2 separate regions of the Homo sapiens genome follow, and region 2 is linked to region 1. Evidence: promoter capture Hi-C in 16 types of primary human blood cells and fetal thymus (Javierre and others, 2016). All regions are on one chromosome and are shown on one strand. The core of a region is centred on a gene start or on the middle of the fragment in contact, and the rest is flanking DNA. Distances in the headings are between cores, read along the strand shown. Region 1 holds the start of SPEF1 (sperm flagellar 1). Region 2 has its middle 2.9 kb from the start of LINC01433.

Region 1 (2,700 bases), core at 150-2,649:
AATGAGTCAGCCAGTGCAGGGGCTCACACCTGTAATCCCAACACTTTGGGAGGCTGAGGCGGGTAGATCACCTGAGGCCAGGAGTTCGAGACCAGCCTGGCCAACATGGTGAAACCCCATCTCTACTAAAAATACAAAAGTTAGCCAGGTGTGGTGGTGCATGTAAACCCAGCTACTTGGGTGGCTGAGGCAGAAGAATCGCTTGAACTCAGGAGGTGGAGGTTGCAGTGAGCTGAGATCATGCCACTGCACTCCAGCCTGGGCGACAAGAGTGAGACTCTGTCTCAAAAAAAAAAAAAAAAAAAAAAGAGAATGAGTCTCCAAGAGAAGCTTTCAGGAGCCCAGGGAATTCACATGGATGCATGATGCACACACACACACACACACACACACACACACACACTCCAACACCAAAGTTCCAGGAGAGTAAAAGACTCACGTAAGCAGAGACACATGTGATAAGATCCCCCTACACATAGATACATAGGGCAGAATGTGTAGACACATAGAACAAACACATGCTAGACACACATAGGCACACATGTAGAACACACATAGACAGAAGCACAAAAAGCCACATATGCACACAGCCTCCCCAAATATACAGATACAGAGATGCATAGAAGTACTTGACATGAAAAGATGACAGATAAGTATTTCTGTCATTGAGATCCCAGGAGACATTCCTAGAAACACAAACACCTTCACAATCACAAAGAAACACATGCACACAAGACCCCCCCAAATACAAGACTAAACATGTCAACACATATGAACACACACATGCTCAGACTCCCAGAAGACATAGAACACATAGCAATGAGTGAGCACATACAGAAATGCATAAATACATATGCAGACACATATCTTAATCATTAATGTCCCTGGAGGGAGTTAGAGGCACCCCCCCCAACATGCACACAGGATAGAACATGTAGACATACATATATGGACACACATCGTTCACACACAGATGCAAATAGAAAACAAGCACACACATCTAAAATTTGAAGTCCCAGGAGGCAGATTCCTCCCCACTCCCACAAGCACACAAACACAAAGAGTTTGCACAGAGACCCGTTACACACGAACATACAGGACAGAACATGCAGACACACAAGGGCACACACCTCCATCGCTAAAGTCCCGGGAGAGGTTTCGCTTGGGCCGGGACAGAGGGATGTTGTCTACCCACAGGTACAGCTGGTGCAGCGCCTCCTCGTCCACGCTGCTCGCCATTGGCGTCCTCACGGCCTGGCCGCCCCAGCGGTGCCGGGTCCCGCCCCAGCCTCACGACCCTTCAGGCGCTTCCTTTCTCGCCACTGCAGAAGCCCATAACTGCCTCTGCCTGCCTAATCCAGAGACTCACGTCCCAGCTGGGAGCGGCCATATTGTTTTCTGAAACCATGGAAACCATTCCCGACTCTCCTGGGTACAAAGACTTCTGGGAGTTGTAGTTTTATCCCCTCCCCGCTACCTCCTCTCAGGCCCGAGCTTTGAAAAGGCGGTTAGCTGCCCTTGTCTTCTTCCCAAGAAAGCATCACTTCTGTGCCCACGCCACCTAGTGACCAGCCACTCATCCATTTTGGGACCAGCCAAAGCCAACCAGGACCCCAGAATTCCTGCATCTGCACCCCTAGGGTGGGGATCCCCCTTCTTGGCCCTTCAGCCCTTTAGTCCCAAGTGAAGGGAGCACTCCAGTGTTGGTCAGCTTTATTTGGGGGTGCGTTGTTGATAATCTGCCACCCAAATGGATTGCGTGATACAACTGCTTCCTGCTTCGTCCCTCTCCAAAAACTCTATGCTCATGGGGCCATTGCCACTCGCCCTTCCCAGCAGTGTTCTAGTGGGGTATTTAATAGGTAACCCAGACTCCCAGGGAGAACACCAGAGTTCAAGGCCAGTACCTTGGCAGGTCATTTAACTTCTTAACTCTATTTCCTCCTTTGTGAAATGACGATGGTTCTCACTTATTTGTCCCAAACCCCTCATCACCCGTCAATGAGCTATTCTTCCATGGATTAGAAATTCATTTCAGGCAGGGCACAGTGGCTCATGCCTGTAATCCCAGCACTTTGGGAGGCCGAGGCGGGCAGATCACCTGAGGTCAGGAGTTCGAGACCAGCCTGGCCAACATGGCTTTCGCCCCGTCTCTACTGAAAATACAAAAAAAAGTTAGCCATGTGTGGTGGTGGATGCCTGTAATCCCAGCCACTGAGGAGGCTGAGGCAAGAGAATCGCTTGAACCCGGGAGTCAAAGGTTGGTGAGCCAAGATCATGCTATTGCACTCCAGCCTAGGCGACAGAGCGGGACTCCATCTCAAAAAAAAAAAAAAAAGAAAGAAAAGAAAAGAAAGAAACAAATTCATTGCAGTACCCATAAGGGGGTTAGGAATATGGGTCCCTCCTTAGTGAAGAGGTACTTCTAGAGTCAGGATGAGAAGAGAGTTTGACTAACGGCATGGCCTTGGGCACCTGACCGGACCGCTGCCTGGTTTCTCATGGCTTTACCTACCTTATAGGGGCTTTGTGAGCATCTAAAGCATTTAGCACAGAGCAGGGGCCCTATTAGTATCAGCTGGTACTATCATTAATGAGACAGTCTCAGTTCCAGCAAGAACTGTTCTTTTTCGCAGGAGACAAATGGAAGTAATTCGTCTTGTTGGAACCTGCGGTGAGGTAGCTGGGTTAAACAGGAGC
Region 2 (2,700 bases), core at 8-2,507, 410 kb after region 1:
AAAAGGGTCCTAGGCTGGACATGGTGGCTTATGCCTGTAATCCCACCAATTTGGGAGGCTGAGGCAGGAGGATTGCTTGAGCCTGGGAACTTGAAACCAGCCTGGGCAACACAGTGAGACCCCATCTCTACAGATGTCTTTTAAAAAAGAAAAACTTCTTTTTCTTCTCTTTTTGCTGAGTAAAAAGACACATCTACCCCCTTATATATACTCACCCACATATATAGGTACACATACCTACATATACTCACCACTACACCTTACACATAACCCACATGACATATACAGGTACACACACCTACATACACTCACCTCTCTACCCTACACATATACCTACCTACATACACACACACACAGAACCTTAAAGAACAGTCATTTTGTTACTCCACATTTCTAGTGATGAAATTTGAATTCAGATCCACATGGCTCTGTCCATGTGGTTTAAGCCCAAAAGCTATATAAGAATACACTAAAATGTCCCCATTCACACTGTCCCCAGTCATCTTAAAGAACAGTTAGTCATTTTGTTATCCTAGATTTCTAGTGATGAAATTTGAATTCTACAGAGTTGAAGGGTGGGGTGATGGGGAGAAGTTATGAAGAGCTTAGGTCAGGTCCCCTTCATGGACATTTAGGGCCCTGCCCTTGACAGGACATGACAGCCCCTTCCTCCTCCCAGGTGATTGATTGATTGATTGAAATAGCATCTCACTCTGTTGCCCAGGCTGGAGACAGCGGTGCGATCATGGCTCACTGCAGCCTCAGACTCCTGGGCTTAAATGATCCTCCTTACTCAGGAGTGGCTGGGACTACAGGCATGTGCCACCATGCCTGGCTAATTTTTATTTTTATTTTTTTGTAGAGAGAGTGTCTCATTATATTGCCCAGGCTGGTAGGTTGTGATGGAGATGTCTAACACACAGACACACGTACACACATGCTTACCTGCATCCACTTACGCACACACACCTACATGCACAAACCTCACAGACATTTTGCTTTGCCAGGGTTGATCTGCCAGAAATCTTCATGGAGCTTATATCAAGGGATTCATACCCACCTGCTGGCATAACTGAAAAATGTCTAAATATATATATGAATTTTTTTTTTTTTTGAGACGGAGTTTCACTCAGTTGCTTAGGCTGGAGTGCAGTGGCATGATCCCGGCTCACTGCAACCTCCACCTCCCAGGCTCAAGCGATTCTCCTGCCTCAGCTTCCCGAGTAGCTGGGATTAAGGCACGAACCACCATGCCCAGCTAATTTTTCTATTTTAAATAGAGTTGGGGTTTTGCTATATTGGCCAGACTGGTCTCAAACTCCTGACCTCAGGTGATCCACCCGCCTCGGACTCCCAAGGTGTTGGGATTACAGGCGTAGCCACTATGCCCAGCCTATATATGAAAAATTGTCTGAATAGATGATCTGTTCATGTAGTTTAAGCCCAAAAGCTGTCCACGTGGATACAATACACTGAAATGTTCCCTCTCACAGTGTCCCCAGTCACTGTTGCCTCTCCCACAGCCCTAGGGGTATCCATTCCTAGATGTAAGTCAATATAAAAACACTCTTCTCCCTCCTTTTTATACAAAAGCACCAAAGTATTCATCTTGTCCTGATTTTGCTTGTTTTAGTTAACAATATGTCCTGTAGGCTGGGCGCGGTGGCTCACACCTGTAGTCCCAGCACCTTGAGAGGCCAAGGCGGGTGGATCACCTGAGGTCAGGAGTTCAAGACAAGCCTGGCCAACATGGTGAAACCCTGTCTCTACTAAAAGTACAAAAAATAAGCCGGGTGTGGTGATGCATACCTGTAATCCCAGCTACTCGGGAGGCTGAGGCAGGAGAATTGCTTGAACCCAGGAGGTGGAGGTTGCAGCGAGCCGAGATCGCGCCATTGAACTCCAGCCTGGGCAACAAGAGTGAAACTCTGTCTCAAAAACAAACAGAAAAACAAATAAAAAATCAAAAAAACCCACAATATGTCTTGGACATCTTTCTGTAATGGTACATAAGCAGACAATGTAAATTTGGACCTTACTTTGGTCAAAGCATGTCTGTCTCCTCCCTGGCCCAGGGTCACTTTATGGAAGCCACCTTCTATTACCTGTTACCTTCCATGACTCATAGTCTGCTGTCTGCTTCTGACTCCTCAGTTGTTGGATTTCCCCATCCACTGCAGTGGGATGGAGACAAGCAGCCCCATCACATAAGTATCGGGGAAGAAAGTGATAAATAGGTTCTCAGTGTATAGGCAGAGGAATTTTAAAGGACTCCATGGTGGGGTGAAAGGTCTGGAAATGTTTACTTGGTGACTGCACTTCAGGGAGCTTCATGGGTGGGTAAGAGGGAGGGAGAGAATATTCACTTAGTGCCAATTGCCTGGCACTATGCCATGTGAATGTGATACTGATTTGACAGTGATGCCAACTCAGGCTTTATTTATTCCTGTGGGCAAGTGAAACCTCAGAGAAGTTAAGTAACTTGCCCAGGGTTGCTCAGAGGTGCCGAGACATGAGCTGAAGTCTGTCTGACTGCGTGGTGTAGGCTCGTTCTATTGTATGATGAAAAGAAGAGGCTGGTGCCACCAAAAAAGCTTAAGGCCATTGCTGGAGAGAGTGGGTGTGGTACGACCACACTGGGGGACTGTGGCGGAGTCAGCTAAAACTGGCCATGTGCTTGCCAGCGTTCCCACCCCTGGG

Evidence for each region. The method cuts DNA at HindIII sites, captures the fragments that hold promoters and counts their contacts. A CHiCAGO score of 5 or more calls a contact.
Region 2: a contact is called between a fragment that was not itself captured here and the fragment with the promoter of SPEF1 in region 1, in 1 of 17 cell types (erythroblasts). The highest score is 5.2, in erythroblasts.

What each region holds. Positions count from the first base shown.
Region 1 is chr20:3,780,049-3,782,748 of GRCh38, forward strand. It overlaps SPEF1 (sperm flagellar 1), which reads right to left and starts at 1,400. Exons shown (of 7, transcript NM_015417.5): 1 at 1,131-1,400. The coding sequence starts at 1,239. RefSeq lists enhancers at 1,294-1,588, 1,550-1,699. The HindIII fragment of the contact is 3,327 bases long and covers 329-2,700 here.
Region 2 is chr20:4,188,841-4,191,540 of GRCh38, forward strand. No RefSeq gene overlaps it. Among named protein-coding and RNA genes, the nearest start is that of LINC01433, 2.9 kb to the right of the region's middle. The HindIII fragment of the contact is 2,670 bases long and covers 1-2,592 here.